2 separate regions of the Homo sapiens genome follow, and region 1 is linked to region 2. Evidence: promoter capture Hi-C in 16 types of primary human blood cells and fetal thymus (Javierre and others, 2016). All regions are on one chromosome and are shown on one strand. The core of a region is centred on a gene start or on the middle of the fragment in contact, and the rest is flanking DNA. Distances in the headings are between cores, read along the strand shown.

Region 1 (4,592 bases), core at 1,854-4,353, 600 kb before region 2:
AGCAGCATTCTCAGTGCAGGCACAGCCCACGGCATTCTCACTGCTCCCCAGGAAGGGGTGAGGGGGTGACTGTGCAAGCTGGGGCTCCCCGGATGAGGGCTCCCTTTCACAGGGATCTCTGGACCATTGTGTCTCTAGACTTAAGAATACAGAAAACAAAATTCCTTGGAATTTAGCCTCTGAGGAGGCAGGCAAATTATGTTAACCACAAGCAAACATCTACATTACTTTCTGGTTTGTTTCCACTACCTTCCAAAATAAATTGCAATTTAAAATCAGATCTTAGAAGACTACATATAACAAGACACCCGTATATTTTCTTTTCTTGCCTCATGAAATGACAAAAATTGCAAAAACTTTTAATAGCATTTAAATTTTAATACTCTAATCACATGTGTTTATATTTAAATAAATGTTGGTTTCTTAAAATACGATTATTCCCAAACTCTCTTGCTATAAATTAAAACACAAATGGAAGACGAAGATGCCCAGAGATGATTCCAGTTGATGGAAGTTCCTGGTCCAGTACAGAAAGGGAAAGAGAATAACAATAAATATAAGTCAAAAGAAGGGTGGAAACAAAATACACTGGCAGTAAAGGCATGTTGGTACCAGGTGGGTTCTTGGAAAACAGGTCAGCAGAAGTTAACAGGGTGGTCACTAGCCCAGTGAGCCAACTGTTTCCAAAACACTGGTCCAAACACAAGCCTACTTGTTCTCTGCTGGCTGGTCCCTTATTAGAGATTTCCAGCTGGAACTTCAAAACTTGATACAAACCATGACCAAGTGGGCTTTGTCATGGGAATGCAAGACTGGATGAGTACTCAAAAAACAACCGATGTAATCCACCAGATTATCAGATTAAAAGGAAAAACAGTCATCATCAATCAATGCAGAAAAGCATTTGACAAAATTCAACATACATTCATGATTTAAAAAAAAAAACTCTCAGCAAATTAGGAATAGAAGGGACCTTCTTCATTCTGATAACACCTACGTCTAACATAATACTTAATGGTGAAAGATTGAATGCTTTCCCCCTAAGACCAGAAACAAGGCAAAAATGTCCACTCCCACCACACCTACTTGACATTGTACTAGAAGTTCTAGCCAATGCAAGAAAAAAACTCAAGGAAAAGAAATAAAAGGCATGCAGATTTGAAATAAATTAAGTTGTTCCTATTCACAGACAACATGACTGGCTATGGAGAAAATCCCAAGGAATCAAGGGGAAAATAATTTCTAGAACTAATAAGTCATTTTAGCAAGTTCACAGGATAAAGTTCAACACAAAAATTAACCATTTTTCTATATATACACTTCTTGTATACATAGAAACCAAAAGAAAAAACACACATATTAGAAACCAAGAAAAAATACCACTTACAGTGTTACAATTTATACTTAAGTACAGGTCTCAAAAAGCACATACAGGATCTACATGCTGAAGATGACAAAATGCTGCTGAAAGAAATGAAAGAAGACTAAATAAATACAGAGGCATACCATGTTGATGAATTGGACAATTCGGCATAATAAAGCCATCTGTTCTCACCAAACTTATCTATAAATTTATGCAATCCCAATAAAAATCCCAGCATGATTTTCTGTAGGTACAGACAAGCTGATTCTAAAATTTATATGAAAAGACAGAAGAACTGGAATAACCAAAACAATTTTGATAAAGGAAAAATAAGATTGGAAAAATCATATAAGCTGATTTTAAAATTTAATATAAAGCAACAGCAATAAAGACAGTGTGGTATTGGCAAAGGAACAGACACATGTGTGTCTGAAATTTTTCATCATAAACAATTTTTAAAAATAAAATTTAAAATAAACCAAATATAAGGAATCTGGAAAGGTCACTGAGGCACATGCGGAACATTATTAAAAGGCTGGAGAACAGACACTACAGCTGTGATTCCTGCCTGTCTCATTCGCTCACTCAAACTCAATGCTTGGCATAGAGCACATAGTCCATAAATAGCTGCTCAATGAATAAAAAGTGAATGACGCACCAAGGGAAATCTTACTCTTTTTCCTTAACCCTATAGAAGGAAATAGCACCAAGAATCCTAATGAATTGATCTCCTTAATTGAAAACCAAATAGAGAAAGCTGCTTTAAAAATAAATTTTATTTTAGAATGTCAAATCCTAAAATAGAATGTCTTTTCCTAAATACCCCAGCCTACACTGCTTTCTCTTTTATGAACTCCTCTAGTAAGTGGCCTTAACATTTCTTAATCAAATACAGTGTTAAACTGTCCTCCTGTGTGTGGTGCCTGGGCTTTACCATGTGGTGAGGATGGAAATAGCTGACTTGTATTGATGGAGTTCCTGCCATATATCCTGACACTGTTCTAAGTGCTTTCCACTCAACCCTGCAAAGCAAGTTATTAGTATCCCCTCTCCCAGATGAAGAAACTGGGGCATAGAGGGTCAAGTAACTTCTCCAAGGTCACACAGCTAGTCCAGGGCAGAGCAGGGACTCAAACACAGGCAATCTGGCTCCGTACTTGCCTCAGTACTGCCTCTTCTGAGGACCTTGAGAACCCAGACTCCTACAAATCACACTATTTTTGTGTATTTTTCTCAGCAATGTCCACCTAGGACAAGGTTGGGTATGCAGCACATACTTTAAAATCTAAATGACTGGTGTGCTATCTGGGCTGCATTTGCAAATTCCAAGAGCATCTTTAGGGAAAGTTTTTAGTTAAAGTTTGTGTTGTTCTGAAGAGCCCTCCTGAACTTTCTATAATGTTTTAGTTAATTCCACCATGAGGATTTCCATGACAAAAAAAAATTGTTCATGTGTGATAAAGATAAAATGTTAGTACTTACCAGATGTTAAGTTTTTAATGTAAATATTGCCCAAAATAGATACCAAAACAAGACTAGCAAAGTAAAAATCCTCCTGGGGAAAATTATTTTATATCTCAGTGAAAGTCCTTTCCTATAAATCCCCCCGCCATCCCCAACAAACACACATAGAAAGCCTTTGATGGCAAAGGAAACCTCAAAGATGTCTTGCACTGAGAAAACAAAACATACAACACCCTCCAGGAATTCTGGTCCTTCTTAAGATCTCTATCACTAATTGTTTTGGAAAACCTCAATACAAGTATATGTTTCAATTCTGGGTTACATGTAGTTTAAGGGTAAAGAAAAGAAATGACTGTAGTCAGCCATCCATTGCCATCTCTCTAATGAGGTATGTGCTTACTGAACACATCTCATCTGAAAAAAAAATTTTTATACAAAAGATGAGTTTTTCTATTGATCTTTTTTCTTCTACAGCATTCTACTAAAGAGAGATTAATCCCAAAACAACAAGAAAGGCCTTTAATGAAACCTCACAGCAGCTGGCCATCACCCAGGCTTTAGCTGTGTCCCACGATACACTCCAGACATTCTGCATGCTCTCTGTACATTACATGTCAGACCATTCCAATGGAATGGGAAACTATGATTACACTATAATTTTAACATTTAACCCAAGTTTTTGCTGACATAATTAGCTAAAAATATTAGCAAAAAGGGTAACAAGAGCTGTCCAGTTAACAAAACTAATTTCAAATAACAAATTTGGAGGATGATAATTTCAGTGACCACAAAGTAAAAGTAAAAACTTTATCCTATCAAGGACAGCAATAGGCTAACCGAATTCACCACCTATAAGGGGATTCTCTAGGAAACCCACCACGGGTACCCAATTTCCACTGGCAAGAAAGAGAACACAGACGTGATTATGTGACCACTAGGTGGCACCTTCACACTGCTTCATCTCAAAACCATATTTCCACCTCCACTATGGCCTTCCCAAAGTATTAGCAGTATAAAATTCAAACCCAGGTGCCTCACTTTAACAAAAAATAAATTTAAAAAATGAGAAAATACATTTTCAATTAAAAACTTTTCCCATTAATTTCTACATCTAAGGCTTTGGTGTATAATCACAGAAGAATATCTCACCAAACTGTCAATATAAATTGGTATTCTGACTTTATCGCCCCTTGGCAATGCATTGTTCCAGTATTACAATGTAGAACTGAGATAAATTTGTAGCTTCAACTATATGTGTAACTGAATTAAAATAATTTCAAAAGCCCTGTGAGCAAAGGCTGTGACTAACTGAAAAAACAAATGGTGGCCTCTAATACTTCTTGAGTCCCAGCCTATGACGGCAAGTGTCAAGTAATCCTGCAGACTGGGTAGAATGTATATCATTTCTTCATCCCTTTCAAATAAATATATTGAAGTTTTAAAAGATTTTTTAAAACAGGTCTAGATTATGACCTTGTAGGATCTACAAACAATTAGCAAATTCCTCAAGACTTGGGTGACATTATTAGATTCAAAGGGAAAGTCTGAGTAATGGGCATTTCCCTTATTTGGAATTATGTTTTATGTTTTGTTTGTTGTTGGCAGGAGAATGGGGCAGACAGTTCTGCCTACTTGTCTGTATCTATTTGCAAAATATCATCCCAGTTTCAGGTAGCTACAAATGGCTGGGTCCCAAGTAAACCTTTTAAATGTGAGGTTTCTCCTTGGCAATCTCAATCTCTCCTTTTCTCTCCAATCTGTGTCC
Region 2 (4,819 bases), core at 694-3,193:
ACAGGAGCGACAGATGGCTAGGCCGACCCAGGATTGAGCCTGAGGGCTGGGGAGGGGGAATCCACCTTCCTGGCTGTAGCCTACGGAACCAGTCAATCGACACCTCTAGACCTAGGCAGGGAATACCGAGGAGCACAAAAAAGAAGATGGAGGTCCCTTATTTCTGGTGGAGGGCTGGTGGAGGTCTCGCCTTGGCAGGGAGGCAGGTTCCAAAATGGACTGCGGGGGGCGGCTGCCGAAAAGGTGAGGGACCTAGAAGAGAGAAATACCAGTGGAGTAGAAACGGGAGGGTAGGGGAAGCAGGCCTCGGGCCTTGGCGCCGTTTACCGCTGAGCACGCAGCACCACAGCCTCGGTGCCCGCCTGCCAAGGGTTCGGCCCAGGCACCGAGACAGACAGAGCGTTGGCCTCTAACTCCGGGCCACTCTCGGGCCCTGGCGCCTCCCCGACCAGGCTGGGGATATCTGGGGCTGTGGAGCGTCGGCGCAAACCCAGGCGGCCAGAGCCGGGGCCGCCCTCCGGGTGGGGACTGAGGCCAATGGGGGCTTGCGCTAAGGTTGGGGGCGCTCCCTCCAGCACCTCCTGTGAGCGCCACCGCCCAGTCCCCGAAGACTGGGGCGAGTTTGGTAGGGCCATCAGGGCCCCAGCCCGCAGGCGGGCAGCCTCCTCCTCGGTTACCGCACCTAGAGCCAGGCTCATGCTCCGACCCAGCTCGGGCCGTTCGCTGCCCTGCGCCCGGTGCCGGCCCGAATTCTTGCCCGCTGAGCCAGCCTCGCCGCCGTGGCCGCCCGCCGCTCGCGCAAAGCGCGCCAGGAGAGGCCGCGGGAGGCGGCGGGGGCTGGGTCGTCGATGCTCGGGGCTGGCCGCGGGGGCCGGGCGGCCAGGGGGACTATCGGAGTTGGAGCCCCGGGCCGCAGCGGCGGCGGCGGCGCGGCCCCAGGGCCCGGTGAGGGCCTGCACACAGGTCCCGTGGCCGCGGGCGGCGGCCAGTTGCAGCGCGGTGAGCCCCGCACGGTTGGTGCGGTCGAGGCGCAGGCCTAGGCGGCGGAAGGACCGCACCAGGAACTCGAGCACCGCCCCGTGGCCGCAGGCCGCCGCCCACATCACCGGGCTGTTGCCCGCAGAGTCGGCCGCCTCGGGGTCACCGCTGAACTGCACCAGCAGCTGCACGGCGTCCAGGTGGCCTCGCTCGCACGCCAGGCTGAGTGCGGTGCGGCCGCGCTCGTCTCGCAGGTTCACTGCAGCACCCTGCTCGAGCAGCAGCCGCACGAAGCGCGCGCGCAGCGCGGGGTCCGGCAGCCCCACGGCCACCATGAGCGGCGTACGGCCCTGCTCCGCGCGGCAGTCGATGATGCTGCGGTCCAGCGCATCCAACACGAAGCGGGCCAAGTGCACTTTGCCCGCCTGCATGGCCTCCAGGAAGGTGCGCGTCCCCGCTCGGGGGCACAGGTCCTTGGGTTTGAGCATGGCCCCGGCCGCCGCGCCCGGGCAGCCTGGCAGTTCCGCACGGGGGCGCCCCTGTTCTCGCGCCCCGCGGGGCTCCGGCCTCCGCCCGCGCTCTGATACCTCTCCCTCCGCGCGTGGGCGGCTGCAGCCGAGGGTCCCGAGGTTCCTACTCCGCTGTCCCGGAGGCTCCGACTGCCCCGCCGCTCCTGGGCCGCACGCCTGGCGTGTCGCCGCTCCTTCCCCGGGCCTCCCGCCTGGAGGTGTTGATTGCTCGCTACTCCGGGCTCCGCTCCTGGCCCGCCACCAGACGTCGGGAGCAGAGACTCGACCCTCTCCCGAGTCTCTCGCCGCTTTCCCGGTGTCCGGCGCCCCTCAGTCCTCGTGGTTTGGAGCCGCCGTGCCACTCACCCGCACCCAGGGCAGCCCCCGCTCCCCCGCAGCGACGGTGGCGCCCGCCGTGCACGCCTGCCTCCAGCCCTGGCGGGGCGCGCCGCTCCTCAAGCTGCTGGCGCCGTTCCTCCGCCTCCTCCCCTCTCGCGGGGGCCGGGCCACGCCAGGGCGCTTGCTCCTTACTTGGGGGGCTCAGCGGCGCGGGAGCTGCCGCCCGCCTAGATACCTGACTTTATAGCCTTGGGGGTCTCCATGGCAATGGCTGTCCTGGGAGCGGACTGCGCCGTCAGGGCAGAGACGGACGGGGCGGGGGAGACCGCTCCTGACCCCCACCCCTTCGTGGGCCACGAAGTAGGGGAGCGGTTCCTCCTCCGCGCTCCCCTGGGAATGCGGCGGCGGTTGCGGGGCGGGGGCGGGGGCTGCTCGCCGGGGGCCACATGCACCCAACCGGGCCAATCCCAAAGTCGCAGTCTTCTCTCCCCGCCCTCCGCCCCCAACCGAGTCGGTGCCCTCGGCTCCTTAGAAACTGGCGGGACCTCGGCCTCGTCGGGGAAGACTGAAAGCTGCCCCCATCGGTCCAGGGTGAAAGGAATTGGGACCCCATGAGCGCAGAACTGGACCACGCGCGAGCTAGGGGTGGCAGCGAAAGGCGGATGAGGAGTAATTTGGGGGAGGGGGTATACGTGCCGCGGATTGGGGGCGCTCAGCCTGGCTGGGAACTGCCACTCGAAGTGCAGAGAATCACGCACTCACACACAATTGTTCCACCCGCACACGCTCCCTGGGAACGAGGGGTGGGGTCCGAGTGCGCTCTCCAATTTCAGACGTCTCCAACCCCGACAACGCGCCCGCGTGCCAGCTCCTGGTGGCTGCCTAGCGGGCAGAGTGTAGACGCCCAGACCAGGGAGGGGCTCCTTAGGACCCGGGAGTGCCGCGGACATGTTAAAAGTTCCCTGGCGCCGCCACCCTGGAAAGAGCTAGGGACCCACTCGAGGTTCCCTGCCCCTCGCTTCTCCCTTGAGCACAAAACAACCCCCAGGCCACAGGGCTCTGGCTCTGACCACTGGCTGACCCCTAAAGAGAGGAGGCGAGCACAAGTTCCATTTTCCGTAAGATGCTTGGAGAAACCACTGCATCTCCTCTCCCTCCGGCCAGCAGGTCCCCCTCGGTCCTGGAGGAGGGGGGATGATACACAGGCCTGGGCGGAGCAGAGTTAGGGCGCCTCAGAGCCTGGGTGTGGGTGGTGGGGAGGGTGTGAGTAGGGTTGGAATGGATATTTGTAAAGTAAGGAGTAAAGCAGTTATCAGCTGCAGAATTTACTGAGACTTTTCATGAGCCGCACATTTTGTTGCCGGCAGCGGGTAAGAGAGAGACAGAATCTCGGTTCTGGGTGCGAGACGTTCCACCTCTTAAGAAGACAACACTGGGACTTAAAAAATGGACGTTGTCACCTGAGGGCTGAATTCTTCTGCTAAATACGTACCAACACAGTCCTTGGATGAAAAGATGGAGTTGTGGGCAGGAGAGGGCTCTCGGGCCTTTTAAAGATAGGCCTTCAAGGATGTGCGGGATCTGGCTGCAAAAGAAAGAAGGAAGGAATCCCAGGCCGGGTGCAGTGGCTCACGCCTGTAATCCCAGCACTTTGGGAGGCCGAGGCGGGCGGATCACGAGATCAAGGGATCGAGACCATCCTGGCCAACATGGTGAAACCCCGTCTCTACTAAAAATACAAAAATTAGCTGGGCGCGGTGGCACGCGCCTGTAGTCCCTGCTACTTGGGAGGCTGACGCAGGAGAATTGCTTGAACCTGGGAGGCAGAGGTTGCAGTGAGCCGAGATCACGCCACTGCACTCCAGCCTGGAGACAGAGTGAGACTCCGTCAAAAAAAAAAAAAAAAAAAAAAAAAAAAGGAAGTAATTCCAGACGGGTTCTGGAGGCAAAGGCTTGGAAGCAGGATAAACCTTCAGGGGACACTATTGAGGGCTGCTTTAAGGGGTCCCTTCCTATCAGAGACAGGAAATAAGGGAAGAATGATGGTGTTCTCAGTCTGAGCAGATGCTTTGGAGTAGGAGATGCCTGGGGAAAGGTACTGGGCATAGATAGGCGTGGCAAAGTGGGCTCATGGCCCTGCACCCTGAACCCCTTGCCTCTCTCCAGCTCCCAGGCTCCGGGGATGTCCACCTTGAATTTGGCACCCAGGCCATGGAGCAGAGGCTCCCACTCCCCTCTGTCACGTGAGGAGCGTGTGATGTGTACCTGCATCCACTACGAAGCCCCCCTTTTCTCTTTTTGCATTTGTTAAGCCTTTGGTCAGGGATCTGCCAATTTTCTTTCCTGGTGTCATGAAAAGGCCACAGATCTGACATCAGCGTTAAGTCCCAGCTTGAAGGCATTTACTAGCAGTGTGGCTCCAAGCCTGCATATTCTCAGCTGCAAAATGAGACTGATAAATACCAGCCCTGCCTGCTTTACACAAGAACAAGTTAGAAAGTGTCAGGGAAAGAGCTGCATAGTTATTTCATTTTTTTTATTTTGTTTTGTTTTGTTTTCTAGAGCTGCATAGTTATTTAGAGTGCAGCCCTCAAAGCTGCTCCCGCCCCAGAGCTAGGGCCCCCTTCTGGGGTGGCCCCCAGGAATGGATAGAGACTCTCCACCCCCAGTAACTGGGCAGGAATGCTCTCCTTTACTCAGCAGAAGAAAGGCTTTTCTTCCCTTTATGACTCAACTTCTCTTTTCAGCACTGTGAGGGAAATTGCTTTCTTCCCTTCTATTTCCAAGGTCAGAGGAGGGTGTACCCCTGGAACCTGTGTGTGGCCCACCAGCCTGACAAGCCATGACTCACACCCCCCCAGGTGGAGGAGAGAAGCAGCAGAAACCCAGAATGGGCACTTTCTTGGTCCTGAAGAGCCCCTCCTCCCTGAGACAACTGAGCTTCATTTCTGTTCCTGTTCCTCCGTGGTGGATTGAGACAGTTCCAGGGAAGA

What was found. Contacts are between HindIII fragments. The CHiCAGO score rates a contact against its expected background, and 5 or more counts as called.
Region 1: a contact is called between a fragment that was not itself captured here and the fragment with the promoter of ANKRD63 in region 2, in 7 of 17 cell types (naive CD4 T cells, total CD4 T cells, naive CD8 T cells and 4 more). The highest score is 10.9, in naive CD4 T cells.

Annotation. Positions count from the first base shown.
Region 1 is chr15:39,682,459-39,687,050 of GRCh38, forward strand. The region is part of intron 10 of FSIP1 (fibrous sheath interacting protein 1); the gene reads right to left. Among named protein-coding and RNA genes, the nearest start is that of FSIP1, 98 kb to the right of the region's middle. The HindIII fragment of the contact is 7,515 bases long and covers 1-4,592 here.
Region 2 is chr15:40,281,121-40,285,939 of GRCh38, forward strand. It overlaps ANKRD63 (ankyrin repeat domain 63), which reads right to left and starts at 1,944. Exons shown (of 1, transcript NM_001190479.3): 1 at 1-1,944. The coding sequence starts at 1,466. The coding sequence ends at 324. It also overlaps a transcript of PLCB2 not described here. RefSeq lists silencers at 1,426-1,695, 1,706-1,765, 1,836-1,905. The HindIII fragment of the contact is 15,046 bases long and covers 1-4,819 here.